4 separate regions of the Homo sapiens genome follow, and regions 1, 2 and 3 are each linked to region 4. Evidence: promoter capture Hi-C in 16 types of primary human blood cells and fetal thymus (Javierre and others, 2016). All regions are on one chromosome and are shown on one strand. The core of a region is centred on a gene start or on the middle of the fragment in contact, and the rest is flanking DNA. Distances in the headings are between cores, read along the strand shown. Region 1 has its middle 9.2 kb from the start of MIR5694. Region 2 overlaps LOC105370542 (a long non-coding RNA gene). Region 3 has its middle 6.5 kb from the start of MIR5694. Region 4 holds the start of PLEKHH1 (pleckstrin homology, MyTH4 and FERM domain containing H1).

Region 1 (4,081 bases), core at 1,120-3,619, 100 kb after region 4:
AATAAATCCCTTTTCTTTATAAATTACCCCGTTTCAGATATTCTGTTATAAGCAACAAAACACGGACCAAGACACTGCCTGTAGGGTTTGGTGTTCTCTCTGCTGTCATCATTATTCCTTCTTCCCACCTCTATGCATGAACAGGTCTGTTACCTGAAACATTCTTTAGTCCTCCAAATGTTCTCATGGTCTGTGGTTTGCTTAGAGTCTAGTGGCTCTCGAACTTTAGTGTGGTTTCATAAACTGACCTTCTTGATAAAATGAATACTCCCAGGCTCCCATCAGCGATTCTTCTCTGATATAGACAGTCCTTCAGCCCCATTTTAAGAAACACTGATTTAGAAATCACTGTGCAAGTGGTTAGTTTCTGTTTTTTCTATTTGAATAATACTGCAGCAAACACTTTGTAGAAATGACTTTGTTCTAACTGTTTTCTTTAGCTACTTCCTTAGAATTAGGATTATGGAATCAAAGGATAGGAACTGTTTTGTAGGTTTTGCCAAATTAGCATCCAGGGAATTTGAACAATCAAACATTGTTTTATCATTTATATTAATTTTTATAACATTATAAAATTCACTGAAATTGCAAATTCAAGATACATGGTGGGGCTGCCTATTTTTCTATGTGAAGTATTGTGTGTAAACTCTCTGCTCATTTCCTTTGAGTACTTATCAAAAAGGAGCAGGATACTGGCCTTTTATAGTTAGATCTGTTCTTTAGCTATTTTGGATAGAAAGCTTAATTTGCCACATATATTTCTCCCCCATCTGTGGCTTTCATTTTTGTGTTTGCTTTATTACATTCTGTGGCACAAAAGGCTTTTAAAAACACATTTAGATCCGTCCATCCTGTCTCTGATATCTAATTTCATCAATAGTCAAAATGTTTTCTTCTCATCACAGTGGAAACACATTTGCTTTCCCATTTTCTCTGGCTTTTTATGACCCACTTAGACGATATTTGTTAAACAGTGATTCTTTCTTGTAGCATTGTGTTGATGCTTATTCATCTTATATCAAGTCTTTAAATAGCTTGAATTTGTTTCTGTAGAGTATGTCTCTTCTATTACCCTGGCCAACTTTTCTTGTCTTTACCCCAGTGAAATATAGTGATGACTGCTTTTTTAAGTTTACCCTCCTCCTTCTTTTTCCCCCACAAAAATTTTTTTGATATTTTGTCCATTCATACTCCCGATGAGTTTTAATGGGTTTGTTGTTGTTGTTGTTGTTGAATTATAGGATGCGTCTCATTTGTCTTTATATTCCATTTTAGTTTTAACTATTTAGACTTCACAATTAGGATCAAAGTACATCTCTGTATTCTTTCACGTTTTCCTCTATACCTCCAACTTTAAAATTTTCTTTGAAAAAAAAATCATTTATTCCAAGTTAAATTAATTCTGAACCACTAAATTTTTGTGTGTGAATAAGCCATCTTTCTCCCTCCCTTTTCTCTTCTCTCTGTCCCACTCTTACTCTCATTCTCATGCTCACTAAAATACAAGTATTTTGACACCAAACCATGTAGCTACCATGGTATATACTTCCACCCTCCAGGCCCAGCACCTGTTTCTGGGCATCTGCCAGCAGCCATCCATCAGCTCTGAGGATACCTCTGTGTGCCTTGTTCCCTTTTTCTGGCCCTCCTTGTAAGATGGGCATCAACTTCCTGGGTTGGGACATGGCTGGTTAAGGAAGAGTCAGAATGTTCTAAAAGTGCCCTCCCTATTTATTGAACAAAACAGAAAAACAGAGAGGACTACGTTGAATGGTGTCTCCTTAACATTCAAGCTCAACAAGAAGCTCAGAATGTGACCTTATGTGGAAACAGGGTCTCTGCAGACATAATTACTTAAAATGAGGTCATACCTAGATGAGGGTGGGCCCTAAATCAAATGACTGGGAACTTTATAAAAGAGAAAACAAAGACACACAGACAGGGAAAACACCACATGCGACCACCAAAACAGAGATTGGAGTGATGCCCCTACAAACCCAGGACCACCCAGGTTGCCGGCAACCACCATAAGGCAGCAGAGAAGCCCGAGATTCTCCCTCAGAGCTTCCAGAAAGAACCAACTCTGCCAACACCTTGGTTTCGGACTTCTGTCCTCCTGAACATGAGAGAATACATTTCTGTTTATTTCAGCCCCACAGTTTGTGGCAATTTGTCATGGCAGCCCTAGAACACCAGGCTCTTCACATAGTCTGTCCTGAGAGCTTGCCCGCTGCTGACTTTTAAAGGTACGATGCTCTAAAACACAGAAGAGAGGTGTCCTTGTAAACGTGTCTCAGAGCAGAGAATGAACAGTCCATTCTGGAAGGTAAATACTCAAGACAGGAGATATTTTTCTGTTTCCTGACCAACTGCAAGTCTCTCTTTGCAGAAGGCGAACTATTTATGGCACATTCCAGGTTCTAAGAACCAGGGCTCGTTCGCCAAGGAAGGCAGTGTGGTGTAATTCAAAGGCTTCAGAAGTTGGGCTCTGACCACCAGGGTCTAAATCTTGGTCCTGCCATTCTTTAGATGCCTAACTCTGGGCAGATCATTTAACCTCTTGGAGCTGGATTTCCCATCTGTAAGTGGAGACAATAATGATTTAGGGCCAACATATCTTAGGGAGTTGTTGCTGGGATCCGACGAGATAATTTATGAGCACACATTCTTTAAGCTGGAAAGCACTGGGCAGATGTTACCAATTCATAGTGGCTGCCTGTGGGGCAGGAGAGACACACTTCTCACTATATTCCATTTTGTTCTATGTGACATTTTCATGTACATATTGAAAAGAATATGTTAAAAAATTTAAGGGTAATCACTGTGAGCGCAACATGAACACATTAAATAAAGATGTTTGCTTTTTATCCTATTAAAAGATTTTAATATGCAAAATGAAGAAGAAAAAGTAGATAAAATTGTGCTCCAGTTCCAAGCTCACCCAAAGATGACATCTAGAGTATGGGCACTGACTGCCCCCTGCGGAAACCTCTGTTCCCTTCCCCCACCCCAGTTTCCATGTGGGAGCTTCTGGGACACAACCCAGCTCACATTTCCCCAACCTTTTTTGCCGCTGTTTTGGTCTGCTGCTGCTGCTGCTGCTGTTGTTGAGTTGGGGTCTCACTCTGTCACCCCAGCTGGAGTGCAATGGTGGCATCTCAGCTCACTGCAGCCTGGACCTCCTGGGCTCAAGCGATCCTCCCACCTCAGCCTCCAGAGTAGCTGGGACCACAGATGTGTGCCACAACACTGGGCTAATTTTTAAAATGTTTTGGGTAGGGATGGGGTCTCATAATGTTGCCCAGGCTGGTCTCAAACTCCTGGGCTCAAGCGATTCTCCTACTTTGGCCTCCCAAAATGCTGGGATTACACTAAACCGTTTTTTTTTTTTTTTTTTTTTTTTTTTTTTGAGACAGAGTCTCACTCTGTCACCCAGGCTGGAGTGCAGTGGCGCGATCTCGGCTCACTGCAACCTCCGCCTCCCAGGTTCAAGCAATTCTCCTGCCTCAGCCTGCCGAGTAGCTGGGATACAGGCAAGCGCCACCATGCCCAGCTAATTTTTGTATTTTTAGTAGAGATGGGGTTTCACTATGTTGGTCAGGCTGGTCTCGAACTCCTGACCTCGTGATCCACCCGCCTCGGCCTCCCAAAGTGCTGGGATTACAGGCGTGAGCCACCACGCCCAGCCTATGCTGAACCCTTTTTATCTGCTCTTGTTAGCCCAGATTTGGTGAACTAGAATTAGCTGTTCATGCCTGCCATGGATTTCCCATGGTTTGATTTGTCTTTCTGAAATCTAGAGAGAATAGGGACTCTCCTGCCAGGTTGTTGGGGCACCTATAGGATTGTATGTAAACACAAAGGCGTATTTGGGAAGCTGGTGCCCCGATCCCCAGCCCTGCACACTTTGAGGCTTTATGCTCATACCAAAGTCACAGCAGGAAGGGACTGCTTTGATCACAGAATCCTCAGGGGATCAGAATGGGACGTTAAGCTTTGTGGTCCACTTAATGAGGAGCTCTCTGCCCCTTACTGATGAGCAGGCCCTCCAAAGTCCTGAGGTCTCTGGGCCTTTCATCAA
Region 2 (3,661 bases), core at 108-2,607, 68 kb after region 4:
TGCTCGGCTAATTATTTTGTATTTTTAATAGAGATGGGGTTTTGCCATGTTGGCCAGGCTAGTCTTGAGCTCCTGACCTCAGGTGATCCACCTGCCTTGGCCTCCCAACATGTTGAGATTACAGGGGTGAGCCACTGTGCCTGGCCCAGGCTGGAATCTTATTGTCCAGAAGTGCAGACATTTACTGTGCCCTGCAAGGTGCCTAGCTGGGTACAGTGCCGAACAAAGGAAGCACGTAGTGAGTGCTTTAAGAAACTCTTGACAAGTGGAGTCTTAGTGAACCCACCCTAAAGGCCAGGCTGAGTGTTCCAGAACACCAGTTCCCAGGCTCTTTTGGGAACTTGAAGCTAGGAATCTATTTAGACAACAACCATCCATGCCATTTCTGTGCCCACCACCATAGAGCAGCTCACTGTCCTCCTCCCTCTTTCCAAACCATTAATCCCTGCAGAGCCCTGCCAGCATTTCCCTCTTAGAGTCTTCCGGCCTTGGCCAAAGACCCAGCTCCACTGATCCACCCATTGTTTCATTCTGGTAATACACTTTCTTGGTTTGGGCAAAGGTAGCCTTTTAGTGCCAAACATTACAGAGAAGGAGATCCGCAGATGATATGGTCTGGCTCTTTGCCTCTGTCACAATTACAGCTTCCAAACAGAAAGGAAGTTTTCTGGTTTAGAAGGGTCCACCAGATGGCGAAGGGTCCTGGGGCTGAAGCTTCTTAGTTAAAGTATGGGGTTGTATCAGTGTCCTAGGACTGCTGTAACAAATTACCACAAAATGAGTAGCTCTAAACAATGGAACTGTGTTCTGTCACACTTCTGGAAGGCAGAAGTCAAATCAAGGCATCAGCAGGCTGCATCTCCTCTGAGGCTTTAGGGGAGGATCTGGCCTTGCCTCTTCCAGTCTCTGGTGGCTGCCGGCAATCCTTGGCTTCCTAGGCTTGTGGCAGCATCACTCCCATTTCTGCCACTGTGGTCACATGGCCTCCTCCTCTTCTGTCTCTTAAAAAGACACTTACCATTGCATGTAGGGCCCACCCGGGTAATCCAGGATGATCTCATCTTAAGATCCTTAATTACAACTGCAAAGACCCCTTTTCAAAATAAGGTAACATTCACAGCTTCAGGGGGCTTGGACGTGGCTACATCTTTTTGGTGGGCCACCATTCAACCCAGTATAGGGGTCGAGAAGCAGATTTCTGCTGAAGCCCTTGCATTTTGTACCCACTTAGGAATTCCATGAGGAGTGAAAGCTGGAAGCACAGTGTGTGGTCATCTGGGAGGGAACGCAAGGATTTAGGCATCCCAAGATATACCTGTACCTGTTGTGAAGTTTCTGTTTAGATGCAGATCTGACCATTTCACTCCCTACTTCAGACTCTTTAATGATTTCCCATTACCCTAAGGATCAAGCTCGACACCTTAGCGAGGCTTACAAACCTTTTGTGGTTTGGCCTCATTTCTCGCCTCTGCCCCAGCCCTGTGCCATCCAGGGAGACTGACTTGTAGTTCTCCCTGCAGCTCCCGTTCACTGCCTCTGGGCCTTCGGCCCCTATGTTACCTCTCCCTGGAACACTCTTTCTCCTCTTAGCCCAACTGGAGACTGATGAGCTCACTTAAAGCTGGCAACATTGGTTTCTATCTCCGTGGAGCTTCCCCTCGCTCTGCCTTCAGTTTACAAACCCAGTCCTGGCGCCTGGAAGCCCTCTGTGTGCCGGTCACCAGCAGAGTGGCTACATTCTTCCAGTGTTGTCAACGCAGCTGACTTTGGTCATCCATTCACCTGCTGTGCACCAGGACCTCCCTGCGCTAGGCCTGTGGCACAGCAGGGAGCAAGACAGATTCCTGTGTCCTTGCTGTAGGATGACTTCAGTGGAATTACAGGGTGCCGACAACTCCGATGGCTCACTGTTAGGGAAAGAGGGATTAACCCAGATCTAGAAGGGGAGATCAGGAAATATTTCTGTGTCTGATTTAGCCAGGACAGGGGGTGAAGCTTGAGGTGAGGTGAAGAGCAGGCACTCCAGGTTGAAAGCACAGCATGTGTGAAGGCTGAGAACACACAGAGAACAGAACTTGCGAAAATAACAGATCGTGATACAATTAAAACAGGGTGGTGTGCAAATGAATAGGGAGCTTCTCTAGACTGGGTAGCCCCAAAAGGTCTGCCAGAAGAGATGCTATTTAGTCTGAAGCCTGGATCGTGATGACAGTCCCCCTGTGAAGGTGCAGGGAGAGTGTTTTGTGCAGAGGAAACAGCTGGTACAAGAGGCAAAGATGCGAATGAGCTCGAAGAGTTTGAGGTACAGATAAAAGGCTGGTGTGGCTGCTGCGTGGTGGGGGCGAGGGTGAGGAGGAGTACAGGATGCAGGTGAGAGAAGCAGGCAGGGGTCAGAGCCTGTAGGGCTCTGGAGGGTGGGGGCAGGGGGACAGAGGGTGATGGATGTGATGGACAGAGGGTGATGGAGTGCTTTTAAGGAAGACCTGTGGGGCCTCACCCAGCCCCTTCCAGGAAACCCCATTCTGAGGATGGGGGCACAGGCCAGGGGAGGCTGCAGGGAGAGCCTGGGGTCCCAGGTACCCTTAGCCTCCATCCTGTTCTCTCAGAGGTCATGGATTGCGGTCAGCGGGACTGGAAATATGGATCTGTTTTGTTTTGGCAAAACTTTCTCTGTACCTACTACATAAGCACTCCTACCCTGGGGTAGATTGCACCAGGCCAGGTGGTGCAGGTGCAGGGCTGCTCTCTTTCTCTCTGTCTCACATACACACACACACACACTCTCACACATACACACACCCTGCGCCACCTCATGCACACTAACCTCTGTGAGCTGGGCCTGTTGAGGCCCTCCTGAAGCTACCTGGGAGCTCAAGTCCCACAGATCCTTGGAGTCTCAAGGTTGTTGGCAGTATTGGACCTTCCCAGAGTAGGGCAAAGGTAGGGAAGATGTAGCAGAGGTATTGACTCAGACAGACTTTTGTTCTAACCCTGTCTCTACCGCTTACTGTCTATATGACTTTGGACAAGAGACTGAGCCTCTCTGAGACTTAGTTTGGTGTATTTAGCTCAGATGTAGTTAGTTGAGTTCACTGGGAGCACATTCTAGCCTCCCCCTAGGCTGAGTGCAAAAGTTAACTCTGCTGATGGTCTAGAGCAGCCAGCATTAGATGCTAGCTCGGCACAGCAATCTTTTTTTTTTTTTTTTTTTTTTTTTTGAGACGGAGTCTCACTCTGTCTCCCAGGCTAGAGTGCAGTGGCGCAATCTTGGCTCACTGCAACCTCCGCCTCCCAGGTTCAAGCGATTCTCCTGCCTCAGCCTCCCTAGTAGCTGGGACTACAGGCGCGTGCCGCCACGCCCAGTTAATTTTTTGTATTTTTAGTAGAGACAAGGTTTCATCGTGTTAGTCAGGATGGTCTCGATCTCCTGACCTTGTGATCCACCCGCCTCAGCCTCCCAAAGTGCTGGGATTACAGGCGTGAGCCACCGCGCCCAGCTCCAGCAAACATCTTAAAATGGAATATTAGACATCCACATTATTAAGTCTTGTGGGCATTGCCTTTGGTTTTTAATATATTTGAAAAAAATTTTTAATTAAAAATAGAGATGAGGTCTCACTATATTGCCCAGGCTGGTCTTGAACTCCTGAGCTCAAGTGAT
Region 3 (3,929 bases), core at 522-3,021, 85 kb after region 4:
TTCCAAACTTTCCCTCATTTTTCTGTCTTCTTCTGAGCCCTCCAGACTGTTCCAACCTCTGCCTGTTACCCAGTTCCAAAGTCACTTCCACATTTTTGGGTATCTTTTCAGCAGTGCCCCACTCTACTGGTACCAATTTACTGTATTTAGTCCATTTTCATGCTGCTGATAAAGACATACCTGAGACTGGGCAATTTACAAAAGAAAGAGGTTTAATGACTTACAGTTCCATATGGCTGGGAACGCCTCACAATCATGGCGGAAGGCAAGGAGAAGCAAGTCACATCTTACATGGACGGCAGCAGGCAAAAAAAAAAAAAGAGATTGTGCAGAACATCTCCCGTTTTGTTTGTTTGTTTGTTTGTTTGAGACAGAGTTTTTGCTCTTGTTGCCCAGGCTGGAGTGCAATGGCACGATCTCAGCTCACTGCAACCTCTGCCTCCCGGGTTCAAGCAATTCTCCTGCCTCAGCCTCCCAAGTAGCTGAGATTACAGGTATGTGCCTCCACAAGGGGTTTCTCCATATTGGTCAGGCTGGTCTCAAACCCCTGAAATCAGGTGATCTGCCTGCCTCCCAAAGTGCTGGGATTACAGGCATGAGCCACCGCACTGGGCCAAAACTCCTATTTTTTAAAACCATCAGATCTCGTGAGACCCATTCACTATCACAAGAACAGCACGAGAAATACCCACCCCCATGATTCAGTCATCTCCCACTGGGTTCCTCCCACAATACATGGGAATTATGGGAGCTACAAGATGAGATTTGGGTGGGAACACAGAGCCAAACCATATTAGGCCTCAACTGGCAAATGATGGGAGAAGGCCTTGATGCTATACCACATAGCACTATCTGAGCCTCTGCATTGTTTCTGAGTGTGTGTTGTCCCTGCCTGTCAGCCTACAAGATACAGGGGACCATTGTCAGGAGACTCCCTCCTCCTTGCCACCCCACTTCCCCACACCCTGCCTTCTAGCCTTGGGTTCAAGGATCAGTGACAAGAGTGCCATGAAAGAGCATCTTTCCCAGGCCCTCCCGAGTGCCTACCACAACCCTCTTCTAAAGCTTCTGGGCTCTGAGAGGGCAGAGGCTGGCTTCTGGACAAGTGGATCATATCCAATGCAGCCTCTATCCTCCTTCACAGTAGAGCTCATTTGGCCTCGGCTGCAGTTAGCACCTCCTGGATCCTCTTGGCCAGACTGAATGACCAATTTAAGTTAATTTTCAGACTCTTAGTATTGGAGAGGAATGTGCAGATAGAACAAGCAGTCCAAAAATGCAGGAATCCCATCTTCAGCAGTCTGAGCAGAATTGGCTGGTGTGTCCTCATGATGCCAGCTTCTCCCTTCCTAAAAGGGTCTGGGCCCTTCCTGGTTGGCTATCATGGACAGAAGCTCCTCCTGAAGTTGGGCTACAATCTGACTTTTCTGTCGTGACACCTTCCACGCCTAGTTTGGCCCTTTGGAGTGTCACAGTATTCCCCTCATGGGATGGTCTTTCACAGCCATGAAGAGAATCACTGTGTTCCTGCCAAGTCTTCTATTTTCAAGATTAAATAGCCCCACTTCCTCCAATTCTACCTCTTAGGTCAAGGTTCTTTAAGGCTTCTTAAGGCCTTTTCCTCATTGCCCTACTCCCTCTGTTTCCAGTCTGTTCTAATGGATTTGTCAGGAATCCTGACTCAGGATTCCATTTAAAATACTATGCTGAGAGCGTGACACTGAAGTGTTTGTGATCAGTAGGGCAGCATTATTGTCTGTAGTCTCCCTTTGCTCTCTCTCCCCTCCACAGCCCCCCACCATCCCTCCAGGCTTCCTTCTGGAAACTGCAAACCATCCCCCTTCCCCAAACTTCACCCATGCAGTCCTTGTAGGGGCTGCCACACTCACCTATGATTCTGTTCCCAAGGCCAGCTGGTTGGCTAAGAGGTTGGCACCAAATTTAAGCTGCTCCAATCAATTCATTTATAGGGATGTTTGTTTTTGAATACCTCTCTGGTGACTGAAATGGTAAAATATACAATTCAACAGCAATTGGTAGCTACATTGATCAATATAGAATGGGCTATGATATCCATCCTGATTAACATGGTGAAACCCTGTCTCTACTAAAAATACAAAAAAAATTAGCCAGGCATGGTGGCACACACCTGTAATCCCAGCTACTCAGGAGGCTGAGGCAGGAGAATCGCTTGAACCTGGGAGGTGGAGGTTGCAGTGAGCCGAGATTGCAGTATTGCACTCCAGCCTGGGTGACAGAGCAAGACTCCGTCTCAAAAAAAAAAAAAAAAAAAAAAAAAAAAAAAAAAAAGAATGGGCTATGGTAAGAAATGAATCAAACCTGAAATGTTAGTGGCTTAATCCAATAAAAACGTATTTCTTTCTCATGCAAAATTTGATGGGGTTCGGCAGGTTTCCTGGGAAGCTCTCCCCCAAGTGGTGATTCAGGGATCTAAGATCCTGCTATTCTGAAGCTTTGTCATCTTACTCTTTCACTTCCAGATGCAAGGTAGAGAGTGGAAGGAATGAAGGGGTGGGCGAGGGCATGAAGAAGCCTCCCCAGCTCTAATGGCCACTGTCTGAAAGTGATGCAGCTCACTTCCACCCACATTCGCCAGATTTCAATCCATAGCCTCACTTAACTGTAGGGCAGGCTAGGACATATCATCTTTCCATGTGCTGAGAAAAAATAGAAAAGACCAAGATTGGTGAAAAGGAGCAAACTAGTGACGAGAACCTTGCCATAGCCATTTTTTTGCCACTCACAGAAGCCGGTCTGTACCAAGCGAGAAGTGGCTATAGGAGAAGTGGTCCTGAGGCTCATCTGCCTTCTCCTGGTCACCCTCCCAATATATCCCTCCTGTGCTGAGCTAGTTTTCTATTACTTTTCATCACCTACATCTAAAAGAGACCTACCTATCTAACACAGTCTTTGTCTTACTATCATAATGCTATTAATGCAAGCTAAATAATAATCTTTCATCTTCTTTTTTTCTTTATCTTTTTCACTTGAATTGCTTTAAATTCAAATCTTCCTGCTATAGTGTGAATGTTTGTGTTCCCCCCAAATTTATGTTTAAACTTTAACCTCCAAGCTGATGGTATTAGGAAGTGGGGCTTGGGGAGGTGATTAGGTCATGAGGGTGGAATATTTGAGAATGAGATTAGTGCCCTTGTGAATTAGGCCTGAGAGAGATCCCCTCATCTCACCATGTAAGGACACAGCAGAAGGTGCTATCTTTGAACCAGGAAGTGAGCCCTTGCCAGACACTGAACCTGCCGATACCTCAATCTTGTCCTTCTCAGTCTCCAGAACTGTGAGAAATAAATTTCTGTTGTTTATAAACCACCTAGTTTGTGGTATTTCATTAAAGCAGTGTAAACAGACTAAGACACTCCCCATATGGACTTCCTTATCTAATTTAGGGGCCAGCCAGGCAGTAAATATTTTAGGCTCTGTAGTCCCTGTGTGACTACCCAACCCTGCCACTGCAGCGTAAAAGCAGCCATAGAGAGCCTACAAACAAATGGACGTGGCTGTGATCCAAAAAAAAAAACTTTCTTTTACAAAGACAGGCAGCAGGCTGCAGCTGGTAGTTCGCCAACCCCTGGTCTAGTTGATCTTTTTGGATCTGAGCTTAGGATCCTCATTTCTCCCTATTAAATATAACCCTGTTAGCTTCAGCCCACCTTTCAAGTCAGCGGCATATTTTTGAATCCTGATTCTGTCACCCAGCATAGTGGCTCTCCCTCCCTGCTCTGCGCCATGTCACGTTGAATGGGCTTCAGTGTCCTAATGGCTCATCAGAAGGGTAGGTGGTGACTGTGCTGCCCCTCCTGGGAAAGGACATTCTGGGGAGAAGCCAGGACTGCAGTGGCTGGCGTGCTTGGCAGGACACCCTTCTAACTACCAGGAGCACAGCCTCTGCT
Region 4 (3,601 bases), core at 248-2,747:
TCAGGAATGGGAGGAACATGCTCTCCCCTACAGCTGGTGACTTCTGAAGAGGGCAGAAGAGGCTCCACATTTTTTCAGCTTAGTTGTTAGTTTCAATGAGTTTGGGGCCACAGGCTGCACCCCACAATTGCCCAACTCTGAGCAGGCCCCCTCAGCAGTCTATGGGAAGGTGGTAGAAGTGGACTGAACCATACGTTAGGAATTTAGGAGGCTTGGGTTTCAGTTATGGCTCTTCCACTTTTTAGCTATGTGACCATGGGCATATCACAACAATTTTTTTTTTAACAGACAGGATCATCAGCCTCCCAAGTTAGCTGGGACTACAGGCCCACACCACCACACCCAGCTAATTTTTAAATTTTTATTTATTTGTAGACACAGGGTCTCCCTATGTTGCCCAGGCTGGTCTTGAACTCCTGGCATCAAGCTCTCCTCCTGCCTTGGCTTCCCAAAGTGCTGGGATTACAGGCATAAGCCACTGCAACTGGCCTAAATCACAACTTTTCAGAGTCCCAGCTTCCTCCTTTGGAAAAATGGGGCCAATAATATGCAGAAACACTAATACCGATGTTCTATAAAGCGTTCAGTGATGGTACTAGCCCTATACACAGTGTCTGTCACATAGAAGACAGTCCAAACAGTTTGATGAAGGAACTGATAATTCTCCCACTGAATTTTTTAAATGGTCTTTCAAGTGTTTTACCTGAACCAAGGCTCTGTCTTGGAAGAGTTTTATGAGGTGGATTCATAGTAAAAGCTATGGAGGAGATATCCTGGCAAGCAGAAATCCCACAAGGAGAGGAGTTTCCTTCCAGATGAGGCTCTTCACCGCCTCTGCCACCCCCACTAAGGCCCCTGGTTCCTGGTGACCGAGTCCTCGCTAAGACTCCTAGGACACAATGCTCTGTGTCATTCGGCGCCCAACCTGTTTTCTTTTCTGCTTGAATGACCTGCTCCTAGGAGTCGAGCCTGAGCCATAGGGTCCCAAAGACAACACTCAGAAATCACAGAAGAAATAACCTGAGGTGAGATGGGGAGGGGTGCGGGAAGGGGTGAAAGGGAGCGAGCACCGATAGCAAGGTGGCAGCCTGCACGTCCGCTCCGAGGGCCCTTCCCAGGAGCGGCTGGATCTGACCGATCCCCAAGTCCAGGTACTCCCGGGGGAGGCTCCTCCTGGCCTCGCGGCGCGAGTCCCCTGGGGCGCCCGGCTTCCCAAGCCAGACCCGCGCTCCAGCGCTCCCCGCCGCTGGGAGCTCGCTTCCAGGTAGGGAGGCACCTGCTCCGGATCGTCCTCTGGGCCCGAGGGGCCGTCCCCCGCGCGCAGCCTGACGCCCTCCGCCGCGGCGCAGCCCCAGCCCACCACAGCGGCGGGAGCGCGGGTCGCTCACCTCCAGCGAGCTCGCGGCCGTCCCCGCCGCGCACTGGGCACACGGGCGCCCTCGGGCCGCCGCCGCAGCCGACCTTGCGTCGCTCTCGCCGGAGTCCCGGGCTGCCGCCGGTTCTCCCCTCCCCGGCAGCAGGGGTCGTGGGCTGCGGGGCGGGGCGAGGCTGGAGCGGGAGGGGTGCCCGCGGGCTCGCTGCACAAAGCCCGGCCGAGCCTTGCTGCGCCCCATTCAACGCTCCGCCGGGCGCCCTCCTCCCCTCGGCTCCCCGCCCGCTCCTTAAAGGCAGAGCGCTGGGCTCAGCTCTCCAGGCAGCTCGCGGAGAGGCACAGGAAATGACCTCAGCAGGCTCCAGCCTCCCACTTCTCCGCACCGCTGGGCTCGTCCCTGGGGCGGCAGGGAGGGCGGCGGGGTGTCCCGGGCGCCGGCCCGGAGCTCTCCGAGGAGGCCGCACCAGCTGCCGCAAGGGGTGGCCAGAGCGCCCCGGGGATCTGCTTGACCCCAAATAGCGGGGGACCCTCGCGGGCTGCGGGACAAGACCAGACCGTCTCCGCCAAAGGTTCCAGCATTCTCCTGGCCACCTGTGGGAACTGTAACGTCTGGATATTTGGAACAGAAGTCCATATTTCAGTCTGGCAGACCAAATGTTCTGAGTTGCAATTTGCAGGAGAAAAAGAAAAAATAAGTTACGACAGCCCAGAGAGTAACTTACTTGCTTATTTTCTGGTCTCGCTATGTTGCCCAGGCTGGACTCGAACTCCGGAGCTCAAGTGATCTTCCCGCCTGGGCCTCCAGGCCGGCTTATGTATATGTTATTTTAAAGGAGGGCCCAGGAGGACCCTGGCTGCCAGGCAGTTTGCAGGGCAGTCATCAGCGTGCCCATGTGCTCCTCGTTCTCAGACATTTGCAGATCTCAGATCGCCCAAAGCAATCTCATACCCAGAGGGGTTGGAAAACTCAACATTTGGCTAGGTGAGCCTGGAGTAAAGAAGATGCAAATAGAGACCATTGCAGGGAGGGATCCACACTTCAAAACAGAGCCTTCTTCCTCAACCCTGCAGGCTCTCTGTCAGTGAAGGACTGAACAGAAGCAAAATACCATCAGCGCCTGTTTCTCCAAATGGTCCTTGGAAGACTCATCCCAGGCACCATGAAGAACACCCCCACCCTGGGTTTGAATCTGAATCTCTAACTAAAGTACCCCAGGCCATTCTCACGTAGAAGTTTTGAGAGCCCAGACACTAAGGAAAGCTGGTAGTGCAGGAGGCCAAACGTGAGAATTTAACTGGGCCAATGGGACTTCAATGGCTGAACTTGCAAACAGCTTTATAGCTCGTGGGGATTGGGATAGATTAGCCCCATTTTGTGGGACAATGCTCAGGCTATCCACTTCAACATTCCAGAAGTTGCATAAGGAAGCCCAAAAACACGTTCTCTGGATTTTGCTAAGAAGACATTAATTCATTCATTCACTTTTTTTTTTTTTTTTTTTTTGGACATAGGTTCTTCTTGTTCTGTTCTCCAGGCTGGATTGCAGTGGCACAATCATAGCTCACTGTAACTTGAACTCCTGGGCTCAAGCAATCCTCCCATCTCAGCCTCATGAACAGCTGGGACTATAGGCACATGCTACTATACCCAGCAAAAAAAAAAAAAAAAATTTTTTTTTTTTTTTAGTAGAGGTGGGGTCTCAAACTCCTGGACTCAAGAAATCCTCCTGCCTCGGCCTCCCAAAGTGCTGGGATTACAGGGATGAGCCACCGCACCTCGGCCCAGAACTCATTTAATATAACTTTGTTATATAGTGAAAAGAGACGCACCATGGAGAGTGGAATGGGAGGAGCATGCTCTCCCCTATAGCTGGTTACTTCTGTAGAGGGCAGAAGAGACTCCACATTTTTTTCAGCTCAGTTGTTACTTTCAATGAGTTTGGGGCCATAGAGTGCATCTCACCATTGCCCAACTCTGAGCAGGACCCCTTGGCAGTCTGTGGGAGGGTGGTAGAGGTGGACTGAACCCTACATTAGGAATTTAGGAGGCTTGAGTTTCAGTTATGTCTCTTCCACTTTTTAGCTATGTGACTTGGGCAAGTTACAACTTTTGTTGTTGTTGTTGTTTTCTTTTAAGAGATAAGATCTTGCTCTGTTGCCTAAGCTAGAATGCAGTGGCAATCATAGCTCATTGCAGCCCAGAACTCCTAGGCTCAAGCAGTCCTTCTG

What was found. Contacts are between HindIII fragments. The CHiCAGO score rates a contact against its expected background, and 5 or more counts as called.
Region 1: a contact is called between a fragment that was not itself captured here and the fragment with the promoter of PLEKHH1 in region 4, in 16 of 17 cell types (naive B cells, total B cells, M2 macrophages and 13 more). The highest score is 14.3, in naive B cells.
Region 2: a contact is called between a fragment that was not itself captured here and the fragment with the promoter of PLEKHH1 in region 4, in 7 of 17 cell types (M0 macrophages, naive CD4 T cells, M1 macrophages and 4 more). The highest score is 6.5, in M0 macrophages.
Region 3: a contact is called between a fragment that was not itself captured here and the fragment with the promoter of PLEKHH1 in region 4, in 3 of 17 cell types (M1 macrophages, naive CD8 T cells and M0 macrophages). The highest score is 5.9, in M1 macrophages.

The regions. Positions count from the first base shown.
Region 1 is chr14:67,430,720-67,434,800 of GRCh38, reverse strand. It overlaps a transcript of GPHN not described here. Among named protein-coding and RNA genes, the nearest start is that of MIR5694, 9.2 kb to the left of the region's middle. The HindIII fragment of the contact is 3,254 bases long and covers 743-3,996 here.
Region 2 is chr14:67,463,196-67,466,856 of GRCh38, reverse strand. It overlaps LOC105370542 (a long non-coding RNA gene), which reads left to right. Exons shown (of 3, transcript XR_007064213.1): 2 at 1-3,661. It also overlaps a transcript of GPHN not described here. Among named protein-coding and RNA genes, the nearest start is that of MIR5694, 23 kb to the right of the region's middle. The HindIII fragment of the contact is 1,281 bases long and covers 717-1,997 here.
Region 3 is chr14:67,446,502-67,450,430 of GRCh38, reverse strand. It overlaps a transcript of GPHN not described here. Among named protein-coding and RNA genes, the nearest start is that of MIR5694, 6.5 kb to the right of the region's middle. The HindIII fragment of the contact is 1,408 bases long and covers 1,068-2,475 here.
Region 4 is chr14:67,531,186-67,534,786 of GRCh38, reverse strand. PLEKHH1 (pleckstrin homology, MyTH4 and FERM domain containing H1) reads right to left here and starts at 1,497. Exons shown (of 29, transcript NM_020715.3): 1 at 1,389-1,497. It also overlaps a transcript of GPHN not described here and a transcript of TMEM229B not described here. RefSeq lists a silencer at 1,404-1,873. The HindIII fragment of the contact is 32,076 bases long and covers 1-3,601 here.